7 separate regions of the Homo sapiens genome follow, and regions 2, 3, 4, 5, 6 and 7 are each linked to region 1. Evidence: promoter capture Hi-C in 16 types of primary human blood cells and fetal thymus (Javierre and others, 2016). All regions are on one chromosome and are shown on one strand. The core of a region is centred on a gene start or on the middle of the fragment in contact, and the rest is flanking DNA. Distances in the headings are between cores, read along the strand shown.

What was found. The method cuts DNA at HindIII sites, captures the fragments that hold promoters and counts their contacts. A CHiCAGO score of 5 or more calls a contact.
Region 2: a contact is called between a fragment that was not itself captured here and the fragment with the promoter of ARL6IP5 in region 1, in 11 of 17 cell types (total B cells, naive CD4 T cells, fetal thymus and 8 more). The highest score is 32.1, in total B cells.
Region 3: a contact is called between a fragment that was not itself captured here and the fragment with the promoter of ARL6IP5 in region 1, in 5 of 17 cell types (total B cells, erythroblasts, total CD8 T cells and 2 more). The highest score is 13.4, in total B cells.
Region 4: a fragment that was not itself captured here is called in contact with the fragment with the promoter of ARL6IP5 in region 1 in 1 of 17 cell types (naive B cells); the score reaches 5.6 in naive B cells.
Region 5: a contact is called between a fragment that was not itself captured here and the fragment with the promoter of ARL6IP5 in region 1, in 1 of 17 cell types (non-activated CD4 T cells). The highest score is 5.2, in non-activated CD4 T cells.
Region 6: a contact is called between a fragment that was not itself captured here and the fragment with the promoter of ARL6IP5 in region 1, in 2 of 17 cell types (total B cells and naive B cells). The highest score is 7.3, in total B cells.
Region 7: a contact is called between a fragment that was not itself captured here and the fragment with the promoter of ARL6IP5 in region 1, in 1 of 17 cell types (non-activated CD4 T cells). The highest score is 5.7, in non-activated CD4 T cells.

Annotation. Positions count from the first base shown.
Region 1 is chr3:69,083,487-69,086,186 of GRCh38, reverse strand. It overlaps ARL6IP5 (ARF like GTPase 6 interacting protein 5), which reads right to left and starts at 1,250. Exons shown (of 3, transcript NM_006407.4): 1 at 964-1,250. The coding sequence starts at 1,139. RefSeq lists an enhancer at 1,170-1,479. The HindIII fragment of the contact is 15,418 bases long and covers 1-2,096 here.
Region 2 is chr3:66,992,625-66,995,324 of GRCh38, reverse strand. No RefSeq gene overlaps it. Among named protein-coding and RNA genes, the nearest start is that of KBTBD8, 4.3 kb to the left of the region's middle. The HindIII fragment of the contact is 8,708 bases long and covers 1-2,700 here.
Region 3 is chr3:67,011,129-67,013,828 of GRCh38, reverse strand. It overlaps KBTBD8 (kelch repeat and BTB domain containing 8), which reads right to left. Exons shown (of 4, transcript NM_032505.3): 4 at 2,619-2,700. Among named protein-coding and RNA genes, the nearest start is that of KBTBD8, 14 kb to the right of the region's middle. The HindIII fragment of the contact is 4,490 bases long and covers 1-2,700 here.
Region 4 is chr3:71,585,630-71,588,329 of GRCh38, reverse strand. It overlaps FOXP1-DT (FOXP1 divergent transcript), which reads right to left. Exons shown (of 1, transcript NR_182289.1): 1 at 921-2,700. Among named protein-coding and RNA genes, the nearest start is that of FOXP1-DT, 2.0 kb to the right of the region's middle. The HindIII fragment of the contact is 2,054 bases long and covers 267-2,320 here.
Region 5 is chr3:66,449,358-66,452,057 of GRCh38, reverse strand. LRIG1 (leucine rich repeats and immunoglobulin like domains 1) reads left to right here. Exons shown (of 19, transcript NM_015541.3): 3 at 425-499. Among named protein-coding and RNA genes, the nearest start is that of LRIG1, 50 kb to the left of the region's middle. The HindIII fragment of the contact is 4,284 bases long and covers 1-2,700 here.
Region 6 is chr3:67,032,955-67,035,654 of GRCh38, reverse strand. No RefSeq gene overlaps it. Among named protein-coding and RNA genes, the nearest start is that of KBTBD8, 36 kb to the right of the region's middle. The HindIII fragment of the contact is 299 bases long and covers 1,196-1,494 here.
Region 7 is chr3:66,310,680-66,313,379 of GRCh38, reverse strand. The region is part of intron 5 of SLC25A26 (solute carrier family 25 member 26); the gene reads right to left. Among named protein-coding and RNA genes, the nearest start is that of SLC25A26, 91 kb to the right of the region's middle. The HindIII fragment of the contact is 441 bases long and covers 1,077-1,517 here.

The DNA.
Region 1 (2,700 bases), core at 1-2,500:
TTTCTCCCAAGCCAGCTTGCTGCTTCTTCCCTCTACGTCTGCCCTGAAATAGAAATGTCAGACATTTAAGTGCAAGTGAGTCCTTTATAAAGTCTGAGGGTGGCTTTTTCTTTAAAGATGTGTAGGAGATAATCAGCAAGATTGAGAATATCACCACCCATCCTGCATAAGCGAGAGAAGCATTTCTTAAAGGGTGAACTAGAAGGAAAGGTGGTTTCTAGGAAAGCAGGTGTACATGCAGTCTCAACACAGGATACTTTGTTAAGTATCAGGTATTGAAAAGGCCTTCTGATACATTGAAACCTCAGGCTAGGAAGCGAAGACAGAGAAAGTGACCACGCCTGGCCACTGCTGGAAGAAAATGCCAGAAGGCCATCTTCCCACAGTCATGGCAGCCTTTACCCCACAATGGGAGATGCGCCACCAGGAGACACCCCCCCTTTTGATCCCAAGCTCAGCTTTACTGTACAGTGTGGCAGGCATTAGGCAGAGAAAGCAGCAAAGTGCGTCGCCACTTGGTTGCCCTTTTTACACTAGCCCGGGTCCACACCCTGCCGCCCCAGCCAGCTCCAGGGTAGGGTTACACCACTTTCCTTTTTCTTCTTATTTTTAAAAGACGAGGGCGCTACAAATATCTTTCCAGCAAGAGCCCGATCCTGGCACGCGGGCGGGGGCAGGGGGGTGGGGGAACTCTCATTTTTCTTCCCTGCGGCTGGCAAATTTTCCCCGTCCTCTTTCCCCTAGGGCCCCCCTCAAGTCTCAGCCCTTGGTGCAGAAAATGGGGCCCCAGGTTACTGCGGCCTCGCCCTGCAAACAAGTTTCCACTGGCTTGGCCGCTTGCAGAATTGCCAGGGCAGGCGCTGAGCGTGGTCAGAGAGCGTCTCTACATCCCGGGATCTTGCACCCCGAGGCCCCTCCGTGCTCGCCCCGGATCGGTGTCCCGGGTAGGGGGACCCCACTTACCCCACAATGGAAATCATCATGGCAGCCACCACCAGGTAGTTGGTCTGGTAATAGAGCAGGTTGCTCACTACGCGGTTGTTCCATTTGGAAATGTCCCTGAAGTCCGGCCGGGCAAAGCGATCGGAACCCGGGAAGAAATCGTCCCAGGCGCGGAGTGGGGCGATATTAACGTCCATGTTCTCAGCTTTGCGTTCTTCGCCTCCAGAATCTGGCGGCGGCGGCGGCGGCAACCGATCAGCTGAGCTGAGTTGGAGAGTTGACAGCGGCTCCGTCTCGGTCGGCTTTGCGGTTGGCAGACAGCAGAGCAAAGGAAATTGGGAGTGGGCGGGCGTGTTTGCTCCTCTTTACTTCTTCATTGGCTCTTGGTTGGGTACAGGAAAACAGGAACCTCCAGACAGAACAAGGGACTGAGTGCAGAATAGAGACGAAATGACAGAAAGCAACTAGCGGAAATCCCCTGTCTGAAGGGAGGTGGCAATGCCTTCTCTAGCAGCAGAGAAGCTGCCTCCTTCGAAATACCTTTTTTGAAGGTTTACCTAGGAGTGTGTTCTCTGACTTAGAGAAAAATTTTGGCAGCTGTGCAGATGCCAATCTAAGTGAAATGAAATGGAAGGCGACTACAGTGTTAATGGAGAATGAGCTGCTTTTGAAAACTAAGTCTTACTAACCTCTACACATCTGAATGCAATTCCCATGTTTTCTCTGTTTCACCATGAGTCACTATGTGTGAAATCAGATTGGCAAAACGGGAAAGAAGGTCATGTAGAACAGAAGGGCTGGTCTGTTTTTTTCACTTCTCTTCTTTGTTCTCCACCTCTGTTCTCTCTAGGCTAAATTGTTGGACTGCTATGCCATTCTGATAAAGTAGGCACTCTGGCCACTTCAGTCCTGAGCTGGGCATGTTGCTTACATTTTAAAGCAAACAGTTGTCTGCAGTGAACTAGTTGTTCTGCATCCAGCATTTTCTGGGCAGAAATATGCATTCCACTTCAAAAGTTTTCTTAGTTTTATTGCAATATTTGGTGACAGCTTTCACTGAGGGACCACAATATATTCATAGATAACGTGATGTTTTGTATCCCAGCCCAAAGACCTGGCAAAAGAAGTATTCGTTGTCAATTCTCTTCTAAGCTTCCAAGGGTCATCTTTTTTCAGTTAAGGGGCTGATTGGTACAATGCATGAGAAAAAAAGTAGTTTGTTTAATTGTATAATGTAATAGGTAGAATTCTAAGGTGAAGATTTCTAAGATAACAGAGTCTCTAAGCCCCTAAGTGGCTTAGACAAGGTGAATTCACTCTACTCAGATCACCAATTTTTGAAAACTTGGAAAGTAATGAAATATACTAATGCAAAGTCTAGAAAACATAATTTAATTTTCCTTATTAATTCAGAAGACAGTTAAGGAGCTTACAGCGACTCTAAGAAATTACTACTACTACTGTTGTTTAGGAAAATTTGGTGATTGCATGGAATTAGTGCTAAGATATATCTTATGTGCTGCTTTTTGAATAAAGTTTAAAATGTGAAAATATTCCTGAGTGCTCATGTTTTCTTGATTCTGGAAAAATGGGATGGTGTGAAGTCAGAGAAAGCAAAATTAGAGTCGCAGCTCCTTCCTCTCTGGCAGGTGACTTTGGAGAAACTACTTAATCTCTCCCAGCCTCGGTGTCTTCATGTGTAAAGTGGGGATAATGGAACATCTGCCATATAGACGAGGCTAAGTGAAGGAATGTATA
Region 2 (2,700 bases), core at 159-2,658, 2.1 Mb after region 1:
TTCAATGTGACTTTTTTTTCTTGCTTAAAACTTCTGCATTGGCTAGATAAATGAAACAACAAAAGTGATTATTCAATATAAATTTAATATGACATCAGATACACAAAGTTTTTTAAAATTTCTAAAACTTTATATATTGCCCATGATTTAGTTTCTTTAAATACAAAACTCTAAATAGATACTAACATTAGGTTTACTGATTGGGCACCACTGGGCTTTGTTGTATTTTTAGTTTTTTATTCCCTTTGAGGTTATATGAGGATTCAACATGGTAATAACTAGAAGATTGCATTTCATGAATCACTGAATTTGATCATACTGGAGGATATTAATGTGCATTAATTTTTAAGTATTTGGAATTTAGCATATACATGAAAAAAAGACTTTGAAGCTAGTGGCAGTAATATTCAGTTCCTCAGAAATATTGATTGCCTCCTCCCACAACCTGCATTCTAAGAAGGCACTGTCTGAATCAATGTTTCCTATACAAAACTAGATAGATAGATAGATAGATAGATAGATAGATAGATAGATAGATAAAGATTAGATGGATGTAGAGATATGAGATTCCTAATCTCAAGGATCTTATGGTTTATCTGTGAAAATAAAACTTATTCCCATGAAAATCAACTAGAAAATGAGAACTAAGGGCAACCCCTAGTTAGCATAAAATAAGTATTTCCAACAATTAATATTAAGGATTTCGAAAGAGATAAGAAATTCTGTTCAGCTGGTGTGGGATTTAAGCTGAGCATCCAAAGAGGATACACCATAGAACTATTTGCAAAAGTGATGTGGAGTACTTTCTTGCCTAATTGCTTTATCTTGGCTTGACCCAGAAGGTAAAGCATTCACTTTAATATTGATAGGGCTTAATTTAGGAATAGAACAAGGAAAAGGAATTAATGGTTGTGTTACCTACTTTATTGCACTTAATTTCACCTTTTAATTAAATTTTCTAAGAACAAAGTTACAATGAAGTGACCAAAGCCTTGAGAATTTCAATAACCTGCCCGTAGTCTTTTAGGGGTCTTTGGCTCCAAAGCCAACTGTCTTTTGATAACAGCATGTAAAGGTCTGGGAATAAATGGAGTATTGAAATTGAAGTGTAGGATTTTCTCCCTATTGAACATGTCTGGTTCTTTGTCTAACACAAGGTCAATCAATATCTGTCATGAATGGACAGAATTATTGGTATAGGTTTGAGATGGTTTCACGCCCCAAGAAATTGAAAAAAAAAAAAAAGGAAAGACTAGAGGGATATATGTCATACCATTAAACTAATTTGACTTTGTCAAACCAAATTTATAATTTTAGAGGTATAGTGATTTAGCATGTTTTGTCTGTTCACTAAATAATGAAAAGAAGTGGCTAAAATATATATGTGTGTGATTAGCCATCCATATTTATTAAGTAGACACTGCTTCACTGTTCTACTGAAAGATTGAATTATTGTACCAGATTGGAGATCCTGAATAGAATTACTCTACTTTACCCTTAATTTATTCAGTAATATTCAAACTTAGAATGATTGCATGAGCCAAAGCCACTGTCAAAATGTGAGACATCAGCACTCTTCTCTGTTTGAAGATTGGCTTATAACCCAAATAGAACTAATGGAATTAAACAATGATTGTTGATTCTTTCTAACCCCAATTATGATTTGATTTTTTTTAAGTCCATGGAATCACTAAAAACTCTAAGTGTAAGGAGAATCAGGGATCAGTAATCATCAGTGTGTAGACACAGGAACTGAAATTCATGAAGAATAGGCATCAGGTGTTTGGAAAGGAATTCCTTAAACCCAGCAGAGAGAACATAGAGGATGAGTAGTTGATTATATTTTAATCCCCCAAATAATCAAATATTTATAAATCAAATCTATTGACATGTCACAATAATTTCAGGGATTTTTTTCTGGTTGTTCTACACATGGTTTTTCTTTATCTCAGCACTCTTGGCATTTTCAGCTAGACAATTCTTTGTTGTAGGGGCTGCCCTGTGCATCGTCAGATACTTAGCAGCATCTCTGTCCTCCACCCACTAGGTGCCAGTAGCACCCACCTCTCAGTTACGAAAATTAAAATGGCCCCAGACATTGTCTAATGTCTTCTGGGGGAAAATCATCGCAGTTGAGAACAAGTGTTCTACAACATCCTCCTTCTACCTGCTCTGTGGTCCTCTGTGCTGTATGTTCTCCCACTTTGTTAACAGCACTATTAAAGTTTACATAAGTGTACTTTGTTTATTATTTAAAGGTAGTTTGTTTGTTTTCCTTTTAAATATCCATTTCACAGCGTAGAGTTATACTTCTTGGTTCACAACACAATATTATCTTTGGTCCATATGCCCCATCTCTTTTGCTACATATGTACTGTTGCCTTCAATCCCCATTCTTTACTTCCATCCTCTTCCAACTTCAAATACAACCATTATAATGGGTTTGATGTGGATCCTGTGTTTCTGTTCTTGTAAAATATGTATTAATGTATTGAATATGTGTTGATTATGTGCTCTTATGGTTTATATAATGGTATCATGCTATGGATCTCAATTTGTTTCTAACTTTTTCACTTGGTACCATGTATTTAAGTAAGGTCTATGCATGCTGCTTTGAACGCATGTAGTCAATTCTTTATATTCTTTACATTTCTATCAACTAGCTCACTGTTTGATATGTTATGTATCAATAAATGCTTA
Region 3 (2,700 bases), core at 26-2,525, 2.1 Mb after region 1:
GGAATAAGTGAAGATGAAGTAAAATATCTTATTTTTTAAATATCAATTGATCTAAAAGTATGACTTTAATCATAACAATGTATTGCATGGTTATAGCATATGGATAACTAAAATGAATGACAGCAATGTCATGAGGGATCAGAGGGGAAAATTGGGAACTTTGTTCTAAGATACCTACACTACACACGAAGCAGTATAGTGTTATTTAAAGGTGGACTTAGATTAGTTTTGAAATGTATATTGTAAGTCTAATGCAACCACTGAAAAAAAAATTAAAGTATAATTGAAGTGCTAAGAGGAGATAAAATAGAATCCTATATAAAATGCTCAGTCAAAACCAGAGAAAGCAGGAAAATAGGTGAAAAAAAGAAACAAAGAAGAAGGGCAACAAATAGAAAACAATAACCAATATGTTAAATATTAACCCAACTATATCAGTACTCACTTTAAATGCAATGCTGGTCTAAACATACCAGTATTCTCACAATGGATATTAAAATAAGTCCCAACTGTAAGTTGTCTACAAGAAAGCCCTTTTAAGTATAAAGATTAGGATAGGTTAAAAGAGAAGGGATGGAGAAAGATAAATGAAGCAAACAGTAATTAAAAGAAAACTTGAGTGGCTATGTTAATTTCAAACAGAGAAGACTTCAGAAAAAAGATTATCAAGGATAAAGAGAAGCAATTACATAATTATGAAAGGGTATATTCCCCAAGAAGACATGATAAAAATATTTTGTACTAAGAAAATGAAAATACTAAATAAAATTTGTGGGATTCTACAAAAGAAATACTTAAAGGAAAATTTATAGCATTAAATGCATATATTAGGAAAAGAAGGCCAGTCACAGTGGCTCATGCCTATAATCCCAGCACTTTGGAAGACTGAGGCAGGCAGAACACTTGAGCCCAGGAGTTTGAGATCAGCTTGGGCAACATGGTGAAACCCCGTATTAACAAAAAAAAAAAAAAAAAAAAAAAAAAAAAATGAAAATTAGCTGGTCACAGTGGCGTGCGCCTGTAGTCCCAGCTACTCAGGAGGCTGAGGTGGGAGGATCTCTTGAGCCGTGGAGGTGACTGCAGTGAGCCAAGATTGCGTCACTGCACTCCAGCCTGGGCAGAGTAAGGCCCTGTCTCAAAAAAAAGAAAAGAAATAGAAAGATGAGTTATTAATACTTAAAGCAACCAGAAGAAAAAAAACTATAAAAATTAGAACAGAAATCAATGAAACCGAAAACACAAAACAATAGAGAAAATTCATTAGAACTAAACCTGGTTTTTTTTTTTTTTGAAAAGACCAATAAAATTGGTAATCCTTTAGGCTCCAAGACTTAACTGAAAATTCATTTCTTCCCACAAGCATTCATTGAGTGCCTACTATGTGCTAGGCATCAATCTAAAGTGCAACAGTGAATTAAAATAAATTCGTTGCCTTTGTGGAGTGTACATTTCAATGGGGGAAGACACATATGGAAAATAAAGCAGAAAAATAAAGCAGGAGGTATGATGGGGGTGGGGTTGGATGATCTTATTTTACAAAATGTGATCAGAGAAGGCCTCTCCAGTAAGGTGATGTTTTAATAAAAAAGAAAGTGAGTGAGTTGTCAAGATCTATCCAGCAAAAGAGACAGCAAGGGCAAAGTCGCTGTGGAGGTGCTCAGCAGGTTTGAGCAACAAGCAAGGTCAGTGTGGCTAAAATAGAGCAAGCCAAGTAAATGGCAACAAGTTTGAGAGGGGTGGATCATGTAAGTATGGAGTTTGGCTGTCATATGAAGGGAGATGGGAAGCCATTGGAAGGATCTGAGCAGAAGAGAAACATGATCTGACTTGTGTTTTAAGAGGATCACTCTGAGTACTGTGTGGAGAAAAGAATAGGTTATGAGGGGTCAAGGGTGATAGAAGGAAGACCAGTCAGTGGAAACTGCATTAAGTCAGATAAGATAAGCTGGCTTAGACTAGGGTGACAGTGGTGCAAATGGTATGTGGTCTGAGTCTGGATGTATTATGAAGGAAGAAGCAACGGGACTTTCTGATGAATTAAACATGAAATACGTAAGAGATTATATAGTGTGGGCATTTGTCCCCTCCAAATCTCATGTCGAAATGTGATCCCCAGTGTTGGAAGAAGTGGGGCCTAGTGGAAGGTATTTGGATCATGGGGGTGGATTCTTCATCAATGGCTTGGTGCCCTCCCTATGGTAATGAGCGCATGTGAGATCCCATTGTTAAAGAGACAGGAACCTCCCCCAACTTTCTCTGGCTCCCTCTCTTTCCTGCTCCCGCTTCACCCTCTGCCATGAGCTAAAGCCTCCTGAGGCCTCAATCTCAGGTATTCCTTTACGGTAATGCAAAGTGGACCAACACAAAAGAGTCAAACATAACAAGATTTTAGGCCAGAACAAACAGAACAAAGAATTTACCAATATAAGTGAACTAACTTGCTTTAGAATTTAAAAAGTATTATATACATAAAGTAGTTCATTTTTTACCAGAGGACAGGTATTCAATAGATTAAAATCTCATTCCATTCTATCATGACATAAGGTATTTCATGATTTTTTACCAGATTTTAATTCTGCAACACTCACTAGTCAGATATCACTTTGCAACACTGGAAGTTTTCAATCAGAAAAGGTTTTATTATAAGAAACAATGACATCAGGTAAAAATGCAAAAAATTGTGCAATTATGGCAAAATGT
Region 4 (2,700 bases), core at 44-2,543, 2.5 Mb before region 1:
TTGTGGGGGAAAACACTTTTTAAGCTAGGGTCATTCCCCGTTCCCTGACTAGCTTTTCCACCCACTCAAATTATCAAATGTGGTTTTGTCTCAGAGTGTGCCTGTTAATATTGTATACTTTAAAACAAGAGATCCCCTGCTGATTTCCGGTGTGGACATATAGGGACATGAGGACACAGAGGATGGGCTCCTCTTACCACTTACTGTGAAGCACATGATTTTCATTAGCCATTTTTATCTTCTTGGAAGGCAACTGAGTTTAAGCTTTCATTTAGAGAATGGTCTGCCCACGCTTACTAACCTCCCCTCTCTGAATCCACTTTTCTCTTCTCAACCCTCCCTTCTTTCTTTGCTGTGTTGACCCCCACCTGGATGTCTGTCACATCTATGGAGAGAGGGTGGAGAGAAAGGACGGTGAGCAGGGGGTTGAACTTGTTCTTGACCCTCTGTGGCCTCAGTTTCTCCCAGATCTGTAAAGGGGTCTGTAGGTTAGCTGTTTCTGAGAAGCTAGACAAACCACTTAAGTCTGAGGATTGGTCACTTTAGTGGAAAGAGTGAGATGGAAACCCACAAAGTCAGGACACCTGGATTCTAATCCTTGTCCAACCAGTAACCAAATTTATTTTGCCTTGGAGGGCAAATGAAATCCCTGGGCCTTAGATTCCTCATCTGTAATGCGATATTCTTAGTTATGCCCATGTTTTTTAAAGTGTAGGAACCTTGGCACTAGGATGGCATAACACTGAATCACACATTGAGAACTGTATTCCTTTCCGATCACTTTAAATCCTTCTGGTTGTTAAAAAAAAAAAAAAAAAAAAAACAGAAAAAAAGAGAGAGAAAAAACAAAAATTCAAAAATTTCCATTGATACTCTTGTCCTTAACCCTTCTCAACATTTGCCACTCTCCCTCCTTTTTTCAAAAATCATTTTTAATTTTTGTTTTGACCCTCAAAGAGAAATCAGTGACTTTGTTTTTACTGTGCTTGTTTTTAATTTATGGTGGGTGATACTGATTTCCCATTTAAGGCAGTAATAGAAAAAAATTAAAAGAAGGTTGATTTAAATGAAAATGTTTGCTACAATTACCATAATAAGTGGCCTCCAATGAGTATGGTATATTAATTATTCGGGAACTGTTATGTCATATAGATATGGCAAAAATCAGGACACCAGTAACTGTGGTTAAAGAAACACTAAATTAAGTGGTTTTAGTTTTTGTTCAACTCAAAACTTACAAGAGCATTCAGGTACGTCGTCAGGTGGTAAATGTCCACTCCAGTTTCTGTTCCCCAAATGTACATATATTTAGTGACATGGTATTTGGTGAATGAAGCTCATGTTTGGTGTATACAATCAACAGTAATGTGACAGGGGACTAACATATTCTGATACGTTTGGGAAAATTTTGGCTGCAGTTAACTATAATTTGCTAATTTTGCATTTACATTGGTTTTTTTTTTCTCCTGTTACTTAAAATATAACGAAATGGGGACAAGCACCTTTGCCTTGGTGTAATTAAAAATAAAATTATGTCAGGAACATCTGTTTTCAGAAGGGATTTCTATTTGTTTTATCACCAAAAGGTGGCGTCCTACCCCCATGCCCTTTATTTTAAAACCTTTCTTGCTTTAATTTAACAAAAAGAAACTTCCAGTTGATTACTGATAAAGAAATTAAAATCTGCCCCCCACGAATGTAACGTGACAGTGTTGAAAATGAACAATATGTTAAGCTGCAGTTAAGTTTCCCTCTAATGTAAACCAAATGGACATCGAGTTCTTTAATAAGGCAGCACAGCACATTAGACAGTATCATACAAAATTGAGTACAATATATCATGGGATTTACAACCAGGATTTCCTTTTGTCTGCAAAACTTGTTGCCAACCTGACTGTGGCCCCCACTTGCAAGTGAATGTAGAATTTAAGGCAGTTAAAATGCAGAATCAGATTAGCAGCAATCTAAAGATCTTTTTAGTATTGCGATGATAATAATTTTTAATAAACACACTGCTTAATCTGAAAAACAAGATCAGAGGATGAATTGTTCTTTACAGACTATGAATAGATCTGTTACATTTAAATAAGTCGTTATTCCCCTGAGTTATAATTCTACAGTCAGGCATATACCATAAACATGTTATATTTGGCATAAAGTACTTTAGAAATTAAAAACCATTTTTAATAGGTTGACCACTACAGAACCAGTAGACTGGCTACTTTGTAGATTTCCACTTAATTCCGTGTGAATTCAGCATATGGAATTTCCAGTGATGTCAAAGAGTTGTTGGCAGTATTAACTGAGTTGACATAAAGCTTTTAGTTCAGTGCCTAGATCATAGTATTTAATAAATGTTAGATGTTATTATTGACAGCTTAGACTGTGAGCTCCTCAAGGGCAGGAATTTTTATTTTTTCATCCCTCTGTGCCCACTCTGTGGTCTAGCACACAGTGGGTATGTCATTAATCCCTTTATGTCTTGACAAACAAGACGTCGAACCCTAGCCTCTAGGAAGCTAGGACATTCCATACAAACTAAAATGCATTTTATTGGTCTAGATTCTAGTCTAAAAGATTCAGTGAATAGTCTTATCTGGATAGCATGGAACTTTATGCAGCATGCATGCAATGTGAATTCTACCAGGCTGAAATTACCTTAGCAGCCTCCCTTTCTTTTATTCTGTAGCATCAGCGAAT
Region 5 (2,700 bases), core at 132-2,631, 2.6 Mb after region 1:
CCAGGGCGTGAGTCTCTGGCTCTTGTTCCACACATGTTGCCCTTTGACAGGGGCAAATTTCGGCCCACGGGGAGTGTTCTCACCGATGGTCTTAGGGGCGCTTTTGTCCCGAACCTGCCTCTTGGCTTGTTCTCACTGTTCCTTGTCTTGATTTCTGAGTTTGATGGGAAGCTGATGGGAGACAGGAGATGCTTCCCCTTAGTGTTTGTTTCTAGCCATGGGTGTGATCAGTGGCTAGTTTTTGTGATCTCATGTGACTTCTTTCCCTTTAAAAACTCACTGCTAAATTCTTTCTCTTTTCTCCAACATTAGAATATAGGTTTACTGTGGCAGACTTAGCAGCGTTTGTTTATTTCTGTTGTATGTGTATGATTTCAGACTAATTCAAATGCCTTACATGATTAATTTCTTGTTGTTGTTACAGGTACCTCAATAATAATGAGTTGACAGCGGTACCATCCCTGGGCGCTGCTTCATCACATGTCGTCTCTCTCTTTCTGTAAGTGGTGCCGTTTGGGGGACTCTGGGCTGTGTGGTGGGGCCATGGTGTTTGTTGCCTTGCTGATACCTGGTGGCAGGATAACTTGAGTTCATGTGCTCGCTGGTGAAGAAAGACCTTTCTTCATGTGGCCCTCATGATCATGACAAACGCTTTGCTTGCTGTTTTGGGATTTGCAGAATTAAACGCTGGAAGTTTTACCTCATCTTTAATTTGCAAGAAAGTAGGTCTTTTGTCTTTTTTTTTTTTAATGCGCAGAGGTATATGGAACTAGATTTCTTGCTTCTGTGGTTGGTTAAGCTGCAACTTTGAGTAAAACTGGAGTTAAAGGAAGCTGTGTCAGTTATAAGACAGCAAGCTAATCTTTGTGCCAGTGAATTGGGTAATGTGACTCAGTTTACTTTTGTGGCTTTAAGAAAAAGAAAGTGCCCCCAGGCCTCTGGAATCAACGTAAAACTATGTTGTCATGGTCAAGTGTTAGATAAGATGCGATCTATTTGTTCTAGACAGCACACTGGAAATGAAAAAGCAGATGAAGGGCCTTAGCTAAAAAGACATGAAGGCACCCATTGGGAATATTATCATTTGTGCTGTTACAAACCTTTGCTAGAGAACTGAGCACTGATCCTACCCCTATTTCTTCAGCAGTCAGGTGGAGGAGCTTGCTTGTTTTAAACTCACCCAGAAGACTTTCCAGATAAACCAGCCATGAGTCCAACAGTTTTCTCTGCCAGATTTTATTGGCAGCTTCCCCAGCAGAGCACCTCCCTCTTCACACTGAATTTCCTGTTTCCACTCCAGGCTTTCATAGTTTAATTTTATTTTGATTTTGCTGGTTTTATAATTAGTTTGCTCACCTATATGAATCTTTTCTCAATACTGAGGCTCGGCAGGCTGAGCAGAGAAACTTTGCAAGAAGGTGCTATTAATAAGAGTGCTGGCATAGCTTACAGATCTCGGATCTTTGGCTGGCAGCATGCCCTGTGTTCAGGAGGTGCTGTGTCCCTGTGAAACATGGTCTTGGGTTTAACCCTTTTCATGGCATTGTGGGATTGCAGGAGAGCGTGGGGGGTTAGAATTGCACTTCACTCTGTGCCCTGGACAGATGACCTAGTCTCTCTGAACCTCGTTTCCCTCATTTACATAATGCATTTTTGACCCATTTTATACATGAGGAAAGTGAGGCCCGGGGGAGTGGAATGTATATGAAGCTCCCAGCATTCTGTGGGAGTGTTTGACAAATGGTGGTTACTGTCATTGGCTGGTGGCTAGTTGTCACGTAGCTCCTTGGATCTTGGCAGGATCTCACCTTTAAGGCCGCAGGATTTAAGAGTCAGTCTCTGTTTCTGTGAAGTGCTGGAAGGAAGGTTTGTGGCCCTTTGTTCCCTTGATGGGTAAAGGTCTGACTTTATTTTGTACCCACTTGGTTTGTGGGCCCAGCATCTGGAAGGTGTTTAATTTTTGGCTTAATCAATGAGTTCGTCTTATGTGAGGCTGATAGGGATGTGATAACCTGTTGTGTGTCCATAAAGCAAAGCACTTGAAGATGCTAGGAGCTCCTTGCTGCTTAAAGCACAGGTCATGGACCATCAGTATTGAGTTAGCTTCGAGCTTGTTAGAAATGCAGAACCTCAGGCTTAATGCCAACACTACTGGATCAGAAGCTCCATTTAACAAGGGCCCTGGCCGTTTGTCCACGAGTTCAAGTTTGAGAAATGCTGATGTAACTGCTCTTGTTCCTCACATAGTGAGGAAGCTAGGGCCACAGAGAATATCTCTGTGTTGTCAGAGAGGAAACTGAGCCTCCCTGGAGGTCTTATAAGTTGTAAAAGTGAGAGGTGGAACTGAGACCAGACACAAACGCCTTTGCATCACTCCTTTAACCCCATGCACTCGGGGCAGGAGCGTGGCAGGTGACTCTGAACCACACTGTGCCAGAGGCAGGCAGGGCCCCCAGTTTGCCCCACGGGCCTGTGGCACTTAGAATTGCACCTTGCTCTGCTGACTAAAAATACATTTCTGTTCCTTGGCCCAAGTGCCAAGAGAAGTGGGGCTGTTTGGCCTTGTTCCTGCTATTCCATTAGACAGCATTGAAGTATGTAAAGCAGGAGAGAAAAAAAAGAGAGTTACTCCCTGTTTGGATTCAGTTTGGAAAATGCAGGTTAGCACTGGCAGCCAGCTCTTTGGCCTGAAGTTGGGCA
Region 6 (2,700 bases), core at 96-2,595, 2.1 Mb after region 1:
TGGAGCCAGTCACATAAAAAGCATGAGAGGGAAATGAGTTCTGCAAGTAAGCAAGAAGCTCCTAAGAGGACCCTGAGTGCCAGGGGAGAACTGCAGCCCCCACTGATACCTCGATTTTGACTTATTTTATTTTATTTTATTTTACTTTATTTTATTTTTTGAGGCAGGGTCTTACTCTGTTGCCCAGGTTGGAGTAGAGTGGCACAATCACAGCTCACTGCAGCCATGACTTCCTGGGCTCAACCAATCCTTCCTTCTCAGCCCTCAGTAGCTGCAACTACAGGCATGTGTCACTGCACCCAGCTAACTTTTAAACATTTTTTTTTTTGTAGATACATGGTCTCCCTATGTTGCCCCAGCTGGTCTTGAACTCCTGGGATCAAGCAATCCTCCTGCCTTGGCCTTCCAAAGTGCTGGGATTACAGGCATGAGCCACTGCACCTGGCCTATGACTAATATTTATAGTACACAAAATCCCAATATAATGGAATCAGGTTCAAGTGGTTCAGATTACTAGAAATCACAGTGAGAATTGGAGGTAAAGCTGACACAGATTCTCTGAACAGAACTAGCAAGTGAGAAAAATGATAGGGCACACTGGCAAATCAAGAAGTAGAATTGAGTTAATGGTGATGGCATCAAAATAGATAGAAACCTTTATATAAGCATGCATTAAGCCCTTCAAAGAACTGAAGAGGGTGTGTGTGTGTGTGCACACATATGTGTGTGTATGTGTGTGTGCATGTGTGTCTGTATAAGATGCGGGTGTTTGGGGGCAGTTTCGTCATGACTAAGACCATTGGGACATCTGCAGTCAAAGAAGGTAAAGGGAATCCAAAGTCTGGTACTTGATTGTAGAACAAAAAAACTGTGATGAACTCAAGCACGTATCAGTTCACCCTTTCTTCCAATTTGCAAGACACGGAGCCTATAATCAATCACTATTTTTAGAGAAAGTAATGATTAGATGGAAAGGAATCAGCAGAAAGCACATGGTTTACAGAATTGTTTCTCACAGAGGTTATTGTAACCAGAGCAACACATTGTCTTCATTATGGGTCATAAAAAAATTGCTCATTTCCCTAGACTTTTTTTGCTGTGATGCAACATTATTTATATTTTACAAGTTGACGTAAATGGTATCTTGATGAGCATTTTTGGAAAGAGTTGCTCCTTGATTAAGAAATGCTAAGCTTTCTCTGATTGATTCTAAATTATGCTATACTTTTTTTTTTTTGGCAAATGTCTATTGTTATAAATCTGGCCATTAGATATTTCTAGGAACATCAGTATCAAGTGAGAAGCCACTGTATCTCTCTAGGGTCTGTGAGCCTCTGAAGTTAAATACTTGGGAGTATAAGTGCATATTTCTGTAAAAAAAATAAAAATAAAAATAAAAATAAAAAGAGGCCATAGTGTCATCAGATGTTCAAAAGAGTCTGGAACTAAGTTTTTTTTTAAATTAGGAAACCCTTTGCTCTGAATGTACAAGCTTAGTTATTTATTTCAGGTTGTAACCTTGCCTTGGCCCAGTGTATTTTCCATTAATCTCCAGAAGTGCTTTAGATTCATGAGAGTAGACCCCCCACGCTCAACCCTGTGTGACAGGAAGGAGCCCAATTAAATAAATACACGTTTTTGAAATAATTATGTTGTGACTGGTGAGGATCAAATAATTAATTCATCTTCTTTTTTAAACTTTTAGCGAACATTTCACAATGATGCTCTTTCCACCTTTGTAAAATAGGGAGATGTCATTTGTAGTAGGCACAATGGTTAGCCCACATGAGTGAGACTTAGTATAGATTTTAAAATACTGAGGTTCAGCCATAACAATAAAGTGGTTCTCAGAGTGACAAACAACATGTGCTTAAAATCTTTCAGTGGTGCCCCCAAATTCCTAGAATAAATCCCAAATTCCTTCAGTAGCTTTGTAATCTAACCCCAAGTGTACAGGTTTATCTTTTAATATTACAGAGTTTCTTAGCTTAAGCATTACTGACCTTGAGAGCTGGTCTTTGTTGTGGAGGCTGTCCTGTGCACTGGCGGATGTTTAGCAGCTTCCCTGACCTCTACCCACTACAAGCTAATAGCAGCCCCCTCTGCCACTTGTGACACCAAAAGTGTTGCCAGAAATTGACAAATGTTCCCTGGGGCCAAAGTCTGCCTTGATTAAGAACCACTCATTTATAGTCCTTCATTCTCTCAACTCATCTCCACCATGATGAACTTCCTTCCATTTCGGAATGCACATTTCTTTCTCCTCTGTACCTTTGTACCTCTGTACCTTTTATGTATGCACCACACTTCCCACTCTGTTATGCCTAGCAAACTCCTCCGTCTTATCTTCAGGACTCAGCTTAGCAGCCTGGGTTAGATAGGTACAGCTTCCACCTGCATTTCCTCTTTCACAGCCTAGCTCTGTTGTATGATTTAGTTGAAGGTTTATCTGTACCTCCTATTAAACCATAAGTGGCAAGAGATCAAGATCATTACTGAGGTCTTCACTGCTGTATTGCATTGCCTGGCACATATTAGGAGCACAATAAAGAGTTGCTGAATAAACTAACATTTGAGCCCCACAAAGATAAGTCAACACTACTATAGTGTTACTTTTTTAAAAAATTGCATTTCCTTGTACAGTTATTAAACATTAAGAGTTCAAAAATAACCTTGGGAAAAAACTGGTACAACGTGTGT
Region 7 (2,700 bases), core at 48-2,547, 2.8 Mb after region 1:
GATTCCCTATTTAATAAACGGTGCTGGGAGAACTGGCAAGCCATATCAAGAAAACTGAAACTAGACCCCTTCCTTATATAAAAATTAACTCAAGATGGATCAAAGACTTAACTGTAAAACCCAGAACCATAAAAACTCTAGAAGAAAATCTAGGCAATACCATTGAGGACACAGGCACAGGCAAAAGTTTCATCACAAAATCGCCAAAAGCAATAGTAACAAAAGCAAAAATTGATAAATGGGATCTAATTAAACTAAAGAGCTTCTGCACAGCAAAAGAAACTATCATCAGAGCAAACAGGCAACCTACAGAGTGGAAGAAAATTTTTGCTATCCATCCATCTGACAAAGGTCTAGTATCCAGAGTCTACAAGGACCTTATATTTACATGAAAAACAAACAAACAAACAAACAGGGGGATCTGGCAAGATGGCTGAATAGGAACAGCTCCGATATGTAGCTCCCAGCAAGGCCATAACAGAAGGTGGGTGATTTCTGCATTTCCAACTGAGGTACCCGGTTCATCTCAATGGGACTGGTTAGACAGTGGGTGCAGCCCACAGTGGGCAAGCAGATGCAGGGTGGGGTGTTGCCTCACCCGAGAAGCACTAGGGGCCAGGGAACTACCTCCCCTAAACAAGGGAAGCCTTGAGGGACTGTGTCATGAGGAATGGTGCATTCCAGCCCAAATACTATGCTTTTCCCACAGTCTTCGCAACCCACAGACGAGGAGATTCCCTCTAGTGCCTACGCCACCAGGGTCTTGGGTTTCAAGCACAAAACTGGGTGGCTGTTTGGGCAGAGCTAGGTGCAGGAGTTTTTTTTTTTCTGTTGTTTCTTTTTTTTCTTCGTACCCAGTGACACCTGGAACCCCAGTGAGACAGAACTGTTTACTCCCATGGAAAGGGGGCTGAAGCCAGGAAGCCAAGTGATCTTGCCCAGTAGGCTCCACCCCCACAGAGCCCAGCAAGCTAAGATCCACTGGCTTGAAATTCTTGCTGCCAGCAAAGCATTCTGAAGTCGACCTGGGGTGATTGGGTTTGGTTAGGGGAAGGGCATCCACCATTACTGAAGCTTGAGTAGGTGGTTTTCCCCTCACAGTGTAAACAAAGCTGCGGCGAAGTTCGGGCTGGGCAGAACCCACTGCAAAGCCACAGTAGCCAGACTGCCTCTCTAGACTGCCTCACTGGGCAGGGCATCTCTGACAGAAAGGCAGCAGCCCCAGTCAGGTGCTTATAGATAAAACTCCCATCTCCATAAGACAGGGCACCTGGGGGAACAGGCAGCTGTGGGCACAGCTTCAGCAGACTTAACTGTTCCTGTCTGCCAGCTCTGAAGAGAGGAGTGGATCTCGCAGCACAGCACTTGAGCTCTGCTAAGGGACACACTGCCTCCTCAAGTGGGTCCCTGACCCCCATGCTTCCTGATGGGGAGACACCTCCCAGGAGGGTTCAACAGACACCTCATAAAAAAGAGCTCCAGCTGGCATCTGGTATGTGCCCCTCTGGGACAAAGCTTTCAGAGGAAGGAGCAGGCAGCAAGCTTTGCTGTTCTGCAGCCTCTGGTGGTGATACCCAGGCACACAGGGTCTGAAATGAACGTCCAGCAAACTCCAGCAGACCTGCAGCAGAGGGGCCTGACTGTTAGAAGGAAAACTAACAAACATAAAGCAATAACATCAACAAAAACAAAAAGGACACCCACGCAAAAACCCTATCCAAAAGTCATCCGCGTCAAAGATCAAAGGCAGACAAATCCATGAAGATGAGGAAAAACCACCAAAAAAAGGCTGAAAACTCCAAAAACCAGAATACCTCTTCTCCAAACGATCACAACTCCTCACCAGCAAGGGAACAAAACTGGGCAGAAAATGAGTATGAAAAACTGACAGAAGTACACTTCAGAAGGTGGGTAATAACAAACTCCTCGGAGCTAAAGGAGCATGTTCTAACCCAATGAAAGCAAGCTAAGAACCTTGATAAAAGGTTACAGGAACAGCTAACTAGAATAACCAGTTTAGACACGAACATAAATGACCTGATGGAGCTGGAAAACACAGCACGAGAATTTCGTGAAGCATACACAAGTATCAATAGCCGAATCGATCAAGCAGAAGAAAGGCTATCAGAGACTGAAGATCAACTTAATGAAATAAAGTGTGACGACAAGATGAGAAAAAATAATGAAAAGGAACGAACAAAGCCTCCAAGAAATATCGGACTATGTGAAAAGACCAAACCTACGATTGATTGGTGTACCCGAAAGTGACAGGGAGAATGGAACCACGTTGGAAAACACACTTGAGGATATTACCCAGGAGAACTTCTCCAACCTAGCAAGAAAGGCCAACATTCAAATTCAGGAAATACAGAGAGCACCACTAAGATACTCCTCGAGAAGATCAACCCAAGACACATAATCATCAGATTCACCAAGGTTGAAAGGAAGGAAAAAATGTTAAGGGCAGCCGGAGAGAAAGGTCAGGCTACCTACAAGGTGAAGCCCATCAGACTAACAGCAGATCTCTCTGTAGAAACGCTACAAGCCAAAAGAGAGTAAAGGCCAATATTCAACATTCTTAAAGAAAAGAACTTTCAACCCAGAATTTCATATCCAGCCAAACTAAGCTTCATAAGCAAAGAAGAAATAAAATCCTTTACAGACAAGCAAATGCTAAGAGATTTTGTCACCACCGGGCCT